Regions from separate parts of the Homo sapiens genome. Here region 1 is linked to region 2. The links are contacts of gene promoters, found by promoter capture Hi-C in human tissues and cell types (Jung and others, 2019). All regions are on one chromosome and are shown on one strand. Each heading gives the region's core, a stretch centred on a gene start or on the middle of the fragment in contact. The rest is flanking DNA. Distances are from core to core; before and after follow the strand shown. Region 1 overlaps LOC124900647 (nascent polypeptide-associated complex subunit alpha, muscle-specific form-like). Region 2 holds the start of SLBP (stem-loop histone mRNA binding protein).

Evidence for each region. The method cuts DNA at HindIII sites, captures the fragments that hold promoters and counts their contacts. A contact is called where the count stands out against the background at its distance.
Region 1: a fragment that was not itself captured here is called in contact with the fragment with the promoter of SLBP in region 2 in 1 of the 25 tissues and cell types used here (dorsolateral prefrontal cortex).

What each region holds. Positions count from the first base shown.
Region 1 is chr4:1,157,981-1,163,426 of GRCh38, forward strand. All of the region lies in intron 1 of LOC124900647 (nascent polypeptide-associated complex subunit alpha, muscle-specific form-like), which reads left to right. Among named protein-coding and RNA genes, the nearest start is that of SPON2, 12 kb to the right of the region's middle. RefSeq lists an enhancer at 5,443-5,446. The HindIII fragment of the contact is 5,549 bases long and covers 1,423-5,446 here.
Region 2 is chr4:1,710,975-1,716,019 of GRCh38, forward strand. It overlaps SLBP (stem-loop histone mRNA binding protein), which reads right to left and starts at 1,345. Exons shown (of 8, transcript NM_006527.4): 1 at 1,156-1,345; 2 at 900-1,016. The coding sequence starts at 1,214. TMEM129 (transmembrane protein 129, E3 ubiquitin ligase) reads right to left here. Exons shown (of 4, transcript NM_001127266.2): 4 at 4,978-5,045. RefSeq lists silencers at 722-841, 852-1,761 and enhancers at 1,892-2,181, 4,161-4,270, 4,391-4,460, 4,771-4,870. The HindIII fragment of the contact is 8,102 bases long and covers 1-2,573 here.

The sequences.
Region 1 (5,446 bases), core at 2,947-5,446, 550 kb before region 2:
GAGGAATCCCTATCTGTGGCAGCTATAGCTTTACAAGATGTATTTCTCAAATAGTAAGACTTGATAATTGAAATTTCTCCTTGATCCATGGGCTGCAGAATGGATGTTGTGTTAGCAGGCATGAAAACAACAGTAATCTCCTTATACATTTTCATCAGAGCTCTTGGGTGACCAGCTGCATTGTCAATATTGTCAATGCATAGTAATACTTTGAAATAATCTTTTTTTTTTTTCTGAGCAGTAGGTCTCAAAAGTAGGCTTAAAATATTCAGTTAGCCATGCTGTAAACAGATGGCTGTCATCCAGGCCATGTTGTTCCATGTATAGAGCATAAGTGGAGGAGGTTTAGCATAATTATTAAGGGCCCTAAGATTTTCAGAATGGTCAATGAGGATTGGAGTCAACTTTAAGTCACCAGCTGCATTACCCCTAATGAGAGAGTTAGCTTGTCGTTTGAAGCTTTGAAGCCAGACACTGGCTTCTCTCTAGCTATGAAAGTTCTAGATGGCATCTTCTTCCAATAGAAGACTGTTTTGTCTACATTTGAAATCCACTGTTTAGTGTAGCCGTCTTCATCAATGATCTCAGCTACATCTTCTGGGTGACTTGCTGCAGCTTCTACATCAGCACTTGCTGCTTCACCTTGTTCTGTTTTTTTTTTCCCTTAAACCTCATGAACCAACCTCTGCTAGTTTCAAACTTTTCTTCTGCAGCTCCCTTACCTCTCTTAGCCTTCATAGAACTGAAGAGAAAGCCTTGCTCTGGATTAGGCTTTAGCTTAAGGGAAGGTTGTGTCCGGTTTGATCTTCTATCTAGACCACTCAAACTTTCTCCATATCAGCAATAAGGCTGTTTCACTTTATCATTTGTGTGTTTACTGGAGTGGCACTCTTAATTTCCTTCAAGAACTTTTCTTGGCTGGGCACAGTGGCTCATGTCTATAATCCCAACACTTTGAGACTGAGGCAGGAGGATTGCTTGAGGCCAGGAGTTTGAGACCAGCCTGAGCAACATAGCAAAACCTTGTCTCGACAAAAAAATACATAAAAAAAAAATTAGCTGGGCACATGCCTGTAGTCCTAGCTAGTTTGGAGGCTAAGGCAGGAGGATCCCTTGAGCCCAAGAGTTCAAGGTTACAGCGAGCTATGATCATGCCACTGCACTCCAGCCTAGGTGACAGAGCAAAACCCTGTCTCAAAAAATAACAATACTTTTTTCTTTGTATTCACAACTTGGCTGACTGTTTGGCACAAGAGGCCTAGCTTTCAGCCTATCTCAGCTTTATGTTAATCATTTCTAGCCTTTGATTGCAAGAGAGAGATGATGGCTCCTCCTTTCACTTGAACACTTAGAGGCCACTGCAGGGTTACTTGTTGGCCTAATTTCATATTAGTATATCTCAGGAAATAGGGAGACTTGAGGAGAGAGAGAGAAATGAGGCAATGGACAGTCATTGGAGCAGTCAGACCACACACAACATTTATCTACTACATTTGCCATCTTACGTGGGTATAGTTGGTGACGTCCTAAAACAATTTCAGCAGTAACAACAAAGATCACTGAACACAGATCGTTATAACAGATATAATAATGATAAAATACACTGAAATATTGTGGCAGTTACCAAAAAGTGACACAGAGACATGAAGTGAGCACATGCTGTTGGAAAATGGCGCTGACAGACTTGCTCAATTCAAGGTTGCCTCAAACCTTCCATTTGTAAAAAGCACAGTATCTGCAAAGCACAGTGAAGCAAAGTGCAGTAAAGTGGGGGTGTCCACAAGAATTTCCAAAGAGCCACACCAACATTTGCTGCTATCAAAAAGACTACGAAATGCCATCTAAGATTTCTTTGCCATTCTCTTTCGTCTTTTCCCGGGGACATACGCACAAAAACACCATTTAAAGTTATTGAAGTAATTATTTTCATATAAAGTATATTTCATTTGTGTCAGTTTGTTTTCAATATTTGCAGTTTAGTCATTTTGCCTCTTTAAAGTTCACTATTTTTATTTTTGATTATGTAAAATATTTACATGGCTCAAAAATAAAATTATATGCAAGAAAAGAAAGAACAGATGAGACAAAATAAAAATGAAATTGGTAGATTTAAATCTGATGATATCAATTAAGTCCATTCGATGTAAATGACATAAAGGCAGAGATTATCAGACCAGTAAAGAAGCAAGACTCAAATAAGTAATGTCTACAAGAAACTGGCTTTTAAAAAGATATTCCATGCAAACTCTAATCCAAGAAGTAGGAGTGCCAATATTAATATCAGGCAAGATAGATTTTTAAATAAAAGGAGATTACTGGAGATAAAGGAGCATTTCATAATGATAAATGGGAACTATCTTAAATATATATGTACCTAATAATAAAGCTTCCAAATTTTATGAAACAAAAATTGCCAGAATTGAAGGAGAAAGAGATACATCTATAATTATAGTTGGAGATGTCAACAATCCTCTATTAGTAATATAACAAATAAAGGGAAGTCAGTAGGATTAGTGAAGACCTGAACGATGCCATCAACCAATGTGACCCAACTTGAGCAAACTAACATTAGTGAAACACCACACTCAGGCATGACAGGATGCACAGGGAATATTTGCCAAGATAGGTCTTACTTGGGGCTATAAAATAGTATCAATAAATTTACAAGGATTGAAATCATACAATATGTTCCTGACCATAACTTAATTGAATTAGAAATCAGTAATAAAACTTATATGAGAAACTGCAAATATTTAGATATTAAACACAGTTTTAAATAAACCATGTATCAGAGAAGATGTCACAGGGAAGATAGGAAGTATTTTAATTGAATTGCAATGAAAATATATTTCTTTTGTGGTATGCGGCTAAAGCAATTTATAAAGGGAAATTTATGCCTTTAAATACCTGTATTGAGTTTGAGACCAGCCTGGGCAACATAGTAAGATCATATCTCTATTTTAAAAATTTAAAAATTAGCCAGGCATGATGACATGTGCCTGTAGTCCCAGTTACTTGGGAGGCTGAGATAGGAGAATTGCTTGAACCCAGGAGGCGGAGGTTGCAGTGAGCTGAGATCACGCCACCGCACTCCAACCTGGGTGACAGAGTGAGACTCTGTCTCAAAAAAAAAAAAAAAAAATGCTTGTATTAGAAAAGAAGAAAAGTTTAAAATCCATGACCTAAACTTCTACCTTAATAAACTACAAAAAGAAAAGCAAATTAAACCTAAAGTAAGAAGGAAGGAAACATTAAAGATTGATGGAAGAAAAAGTAAAAGTAAAGTGTGGAAATCATTGAAACAAAATGAACAAACACTAGAGAAAGCTAATGAAACTAAAACTCGTTCTTTGAAAGATCAATAAAATTGGTAAGTCTGATCAGGGGAGAAGGAGAAAAACCACAAGTTACCAATATCAGAATGAAAGGGGATATCGTTATAAATTCTACAGATAATAAGAGGGTAATAAAGAAATTTTATGGGCCAGTGTGGTAGCTCATGTCTGTAATCCCAGCATTTCGGGAGACTAAGGAAGATGGATATGACTTGAGGAGTTTAAGACCAGCCTGGACATCATAGTGAGACCTTGTTGCTACAAAACAATAAAAATCAGCTGGGTGTGGTGGGGGGGTACCTGTAGTCCCAGCTACTCAGGAGGCTAAGGTGGGAGGATGGCTTGAACCTAGAAGGCTGAGACTGCAGTAAGCAGTGACTGTGTCACTGCACTCCAGCCTGACGACAGAGGGATACCCTGTCTAAAAGAATTTTGTGAATGAGTTGTGCCAATACATTTGACAATTTAGATGAAATTGACAAATTCTTCAAAAGCACAAATTACAAAAACTTTCACAAGAAAAAATATTTTTAATAGCCTAATCAATCTAATAAAGAATCGAATAAATAAATTTTATTTGTAATTAAAAACTCCTCCCACAAAGAAAATTCTAGGCCCAATGGCCTCACTGGTGAATTCTGTGAAATATTCTATAAAACGTTTATGAAAAAGTTAATATCCATTTTTCACAAAGTCAGAGAAGAGAGCACTTGGATTCATTTTATGAGGTCAGCATTATCCTATACCAAAATTATACTATGACATTATAGAATCTAGTAATAAATGTATTTGGAACTGACAATTCCCTGTGCTTTTAAACATTCTGTGGTTAAAAATTTGCCCAGTTATTTGAATTTGGGTGTTTGTTTTTTGGGGGTTTTTGTTTTTTTGAGAAGGAGTCTGTATCGCCCAGGGTGGAGTGCAATGGTGCAATCTCGGCTCACTGCAACCTCTGCTTCCTGGGTTCAAGCAATTCTCCTGCCTCAGCCTCCTGAGTAGCTGGGATTACAGGCATCTGCCACCACTCCCGGCTAATTTTGTATTTTTAGTACAGATGGGGTTTCACCATGTTGGCCAGGCTGGTCTCAAACTCCTGACCTCAAGTGATCCACCCATCTCAGCCTCCCAAAGTGCTGGGATTACAGGTGTGAGCCACCGTGGCCGGCCAGTTATTTGAATTTGTGAACCTGAACTTCCAGCTTAGGATTTGTTTTCCTCGGCCCTGCTGATCAGCTCTCACTTTACCGCTGCTTTTCAGCTTCTCTAATTTTGCTGTTATTTTTTTCTCCATCTTTGGGGAATTTATACTTTTGTTATTGGAGAGATTTAAAATAATTTGTATTACCATTCCTCAAATCTCAGACCATCCTTTTGGGATAATTTTCCTCCACCCTGAACAACATCCTTTAGAAGTTTTTCAGGGTAATTATCTTGGTATTAAGATTCTTCAGTTTCTGTTAATCTGAAAATGTCTGCATTTTGCTCTCATTCTTAAAAGGTGTTGCTGAGTTCCCAGCTGTGGGTTGACAGTTAATTTCTCTCAACATTTCAAAAGTTATTATCTGACTGCCTTCTGACTCCCTTTGGGCTGTTAGGAAGTAGCTGTCATTCAATAGATGTTCCTTCATAAGCAATCTGTACATTCCTCTGGGTCCTTTGAAGGTTTTTTCTTGTTTTTTTTTTTTGTTTTTTGTTTTTTTTTTTTTGAGATGGAGTCTCACTGTCTCCCAGGCTGGAGTGCAATGGCGCAATCTTGGCTCACTGCAAGCTCTGCCTCTGGGGTTCATGCCATTCTCCTGCCTCAGCCTCCCAAGTAGCTGGGACTACAGGTGCCCGCCACCGCGCCCAGCTAATTTTTTTTGTATTTTTAGTAGAGACAGGGTTTCGTCGTGTTAGCCAGGATGGTCTCGATCTCCTGACCTCGTGATCCGCCTGCCTCGGCCTCCCAAAGTGCTGGGATTACAGGCGTGAGCCACCGCGCCCAGCCTGAAGGTTCGTTCTTTGTGTTTAGTGTTCACCAGTTTCAATATACTGTGTGTGGGCGTGGACTGCTTTCACTTCTCCTCTTTGGAATACATTATGCTTTCTGTTTCTGGAGACAGCTTCTAATT
Region 2 (5,045 bases), core at 95-2,594:
CGGGAGGGGGAGGCTGCAGTGAGCCAAGATCGCGTCACCGCACTCCAGCCTGTGAGACAGAGTGAGACCCTGTCTTTAAAAAAAAAAAAAAAAAAAAAAAAGTAACGCAAAGGTAGTTTCTTGCATGATTCCGCGCTCAGCATAATTTTTTCCTTTTGGCACAGTGAAGTTGGGTCCGATTTTTTTTTTTCCTTTCACGCCTCCCATCCCCAACCCATCAGCAAGTCTCACAGGTCCTGCCTTCAGAAGCCTATCCCGAACCACGCATTTCCCTCCACCTTCACTGCTCCATCTCGGCCAAGTCACCACGCCTTTCAGGGAACTCAGGAGCAACAAGCCCCCAGTGCGGGACGAGCCACCCCAAAGCCCCTCGAGAAGTTTTCTCTAACCACAGCCCCGAAAAGCCCCGCCACTACGACCACTGGCACCCCTGCTTATTTCCTCCAGACCCTCCTCGGCCGTCCCACCCCATCAAGCCCTCCTTTCGCTCGCATCTCCACCCTCCCTGCACACTGCCTAACCCAGAAAATGGCCAAGCAGGTAAGCCCTGTCAACTCACTTCTCCTCGGGACTCGGGTGTCCCTGACTTCCACGTGTTCACGAGAAGCTCGTCAGAGACCCTGACCTCTCCCGGGAGCACAACACAGACTCGAACTGGCTAACTCGGGCTGACGCCGGTTCAGCTGACTCCCATCCTGGCAAGAGGCTTCCGGAGTGTTCCAGCGCCTCCCAGGCCTGCTGCGGCCGCCCCAGTCCACGGGCCGCGCGGAGACCAAGATAAAAGGACGCAGGGTGCCGACCTGACCGATCCCGGCACCGCGAGAGCGCGACGAGGTCCCTGGAGCCCGCGGCCTCGTCAAGGGCCCCACCGCGCCCCGACCCCCGGGTCCCGCGCCCACCTCTCGGGTCTGCGCTCGGCGCCGCGGTGCTCTGCCTCCTCGGCGTCTTCGGGCCTCCAGCGCCTGCCGTCGGCTCTGCGCTTCCGTCCCAGGCTCCATCGCGCGGGGGACGGCGGGCTGCGGGGAGGGACGCGGTCGGCTGGGCACGGGAGGTTCGGGACCGCCTTACAACCTCCGCCCTCCCACACCCCGGCCCCGCACAACCCCCGCCCCACGGGGCACGCGCTCCCTCGCCCGCCGCGCAGCCCGGCCTCACCTGGCGTCACCGTCGCAGCGGCTCTGATGCCTCGGCGGGCTTCGCGGGCGGCAGGCCATGGCAGCACGGGCCGGGCGCGCAGCGCAGGGCCGAGGCTGAGGCGGCGGCGGCGCGGGCAGAGAGCGCAGAGTAGAGCAGGGCAGGGCCTGAGGCAGAAACCCGCGTCCCCGCGCCGGCGCTCACGAGCTCTGCGCGCCCCGCCCCCAACCGCCTTTATGTGGGCGCCGGGCCCCGCCCCTCGGCCTCCCGCGCGCGCCGGGTCGGGCGAGACCATCGGGCCACGCCGCAGGGGTCCACTCAGCTGTGCGCGCCTCGCGAGCCGACTGGGGCTAGGGCGAGGCCTCGGGACCGCGGGCAGCCGCGAAGCCCGACTGCCCGGCCCTCGGCTCGGGAGCCAGATGGACGCCGTGGGCTGAGGAGAGGCCTGAGGAAAAGGTTGCCCCCACCCGCGGGATTGAGGCGGCCGGGCCGCCGCGGGCCTCTGCGACGCTGATAGGTCGCGCCTTGGCGGGCGGGGGCAGCTTTGGCGGGAGATTCGGCCGCGCGCGACGCGGCGCAGGTCGTGGGGGAAGGGTAAGCGGCACGTTTCTCGGCCTGGGTCGTGGCGCATCTCCCATTGGTTCCGGCCTGGGTGGAGCGCGGCTCTGCTTGGTTCCTGCCCAGGTGGGGGCGTGTCTCCTCCCTGGCGGGAACCCGGAACCCGGAACCCGGAAGGCGCGGCCTGTGGCGGGTACTGACTGCTTCCCACGGTCCCGTGGCCGCTGCAGGCCCCGTACGCGCCGTCTATTGTTTTGAGCCGCTTAAAGTTTTGGAGTAACCTTTTAGGTCGCAACAGTTGACAACTACACTGAGTCTTTCCGGTCCCACTGCCCTGGCCGTTGACCGCACACCGGCCACCGACTGAGCCGCTAGTTTCGGTTGCCGCTGCCTCCCTGCCCGTCCATGACGTCCTCCACTGTGTCGCCGGTGCATGACGCTCCCACCCTCTGCCTGGAGTTGACTGGGTTTGTATCCTGAAGAATCCCTGGCTCAGCAGGTAGGTTCCACCTGGAGGCGAGGTCCTGTAGATCCGCACCATCCCGTCCCGCTTCCCCGCCGTCACAGTTGCAGCTGACGGCCCCGCGGATCCAGCCAACTAGAACCCCAACGGGTGCACTACACCTGAGAACAGGTTCCCACAGCTTCCTGTTGGGGACAACGTGAGGGATGCAGGGGAGAGTGGAACCAGCCAAAAGAGTGGGCAGTGGGGTCAGGTCCAGGAGGCTGAGCCCCAGGGATGCTTGGGATCCCTCTAAGGCCTTACACCTCTGGGAGGGCCGGACTTTTGCACCTGCTGCCCTCAGGACTGTGCCTTGGTGCGTCCACCGCCCCCTTTTGAACTCAAAAAAGTCATCCTCAGACTAGGACGGACACATCCTGTCCCCTTCCTCCCCAGGCCCTGGGCATCCCATAACCCTCAACACTGTAAACTAAAAATAAAATCCTGGCAGGGCGCGGTGGCTCATGCCTGTAATTCCAACACTTTGGGAGGCCGAGGCGGGAGGATCATCTGAGGTTGGGAGTTCGAGACTAGCCTGACCAACATGGAGAAACCCTGTCTCTACTAAAAATACAAAATTAGCCTGGCATGGTGACGCATGCTTGTAATCCCAGCTACTCGGGTGGCTGAGGCAGGAGAATTGTTTGAACCCGGGAGGCAGTGGGCTAAGATTGCACCACTGTACTCCAACCTGGGCAACAAGAGCAGAACTCTGTCTCAAAAAAAATTAAAATCCTAAGCCCCCAACAACTGAATGGACCCCCTTGCGGTCAAGGGGACACCAGTGGCAATAAGATACCAAATTATGAATAGGACCTAAGGTCATGCCAGGCAAGGGTTAAGTCACACACCCTACATTTAAACTATATTCCTACTGCCACACTGCTTTTCTTTTCCTCTTAGTAGCTCAATAAGCACTGGCCTTGAGCTAAGCAATATTGGAACAGTGCAGTGGCCGAGATGATGGCTCATGCCTGTGATCCCAACACTTTGGGAGGCTGAAGCCTCCAAAAGGATTGCTTCAGGTCCAGAGTTTAAGACCAGCCTGGGTAACAGCGAGACCCTATCTTTACAAAAAACTTAAACAAAAAGGCTAGGCACTGTGGCTCACACCTGTAATCCCAGCATTTTGGGAGGCTGAGGTGGGAGGATCGCTTGAGCTCAGGAATTCGAGACCAGCCTGGGCAACATAGCAAGACTTCATCTTTACTAAAAATCAAAAAAATTAGCCGGCCATGGTGGTGTGTGCCTGTGATCCCAGCTACTCGGAAGCTGAAGTGGGAGGATTCCTTGAACCTGGGAGGTCAAGGCTACAGTGAGCCCAGATGGCGCCACTGCACTCCAGCCTGGGCGACAGAGTAAGACCCTGTCTCAAAACAATAAAAACCAATTTGCAGTTCCACCGGATGCTGACTGATCCCCCAGCCCCTATTCCACCAGCCATAACTACAGTTTCATTGGACAAGAGACTGATTTCAGTAACTTGGTCCAGATAAGAGACCACAGTGATGGACCACTTCTGGCCTGTGTAGAACCTCATTATAATACATTTTAAATGTTAAGTCTCCACCCCAAAGTGAATGTGGATTGTATGTTTGTTCAGGATGCATGCGTCAGGACTGCCTTCATGAATATTCATAGCTCCTCCTGTCACCTGCTGAATATGCATGTTTAGCCAACCCATTCAGCATAAACCTCCTGCCCCAACCCCTCCTCCTCCTCCTCTGAAGTGCCCATCTCTGGTCTTGGCCAGAGGCTGTGCTTTCCAGTCTGAGGGATGGCCATCTTGCAGGCTGTTAACTATTTTTATTTTGAGACAGTCTCACTCTGTCGCCCAGGCTGGAGTGTAGTGACGCGATCTCGGCTCACTGCAATCTCTGCTATCCAGGTTCAAGCGATTCTCGTCAGGCTGTAACTTTTTAGAAGAAATAAACTCTTCTCTAAGTTAACAGTACAGAGCCAAAGAGTCCCAAGTACCTGTGAGTCACAGGGCCTGGCACAGTCAGGGCCCATAACAGCCCCTCAGTAGATGCTCACTGGATCTCTGTTGTTGGTTAAAGCAGCGCCTGGCTGTGTATGCAAAAGAATGCCAGTGAAAGTACCAGGCTGGAAAGAATCTGAAGACACTCGTAGCGCAGGAAACTAGAGCCCACTGTCATATCTTTCAATAGGATTACGTGTACTGTTTCCCCAAGAACCATCCTGTGGGTCAAGAAGCAGAATGGGGAAAAGGCAGCAAGCACTCACTGTCCGGTTGCTGGGGTGCTCACCTGAGGGCCCAGTGCTGTGGGGAACCCCAGGCTGCTGTCTTGGCTGCCCTAGGTGCTCGGCTGGCAATTCCTGGGCCACCCTGACCCACAGTGAGGTCAGTAGAGACAGCCTGGTGTCCTCACAGGACGCAGCTGCAAACATAAGTGAACCGGAAAGGCTGCTCACTCCTTGGCTACCCATGTGTCCCCACATCAGTTCCTGCATCTGGAAGCAGCCGCAGTGGCGACCACACAGTGACTTCCCCCAGGACGTGTCTCTGCCCCTCCCACCCTGCTCCTGCAGAGGGCCCTGGGTCAGGGGTTCTCAAGACCCCAGAGTCCCTAACCAGAAATCAGAGGGGAAGGTTCCTACTGTACCCGCCTCCCAACCAATGGGTTTTTCCTCCTTATTCTGAACAAAGCACGCCACGCACGCAATTCCACCTCTAAGGTGGCTTCTCCAATACCCACAGGCCATTCTCCAACTATGACAAAAGTTTGGTTTTAATATCGGGCAACACAAAACACAGTACATCACTTCAGACTAAATTTTATTAAATATGGTGTCATTTGGCTACAATCGGTTTGTCTTTATAAAACTA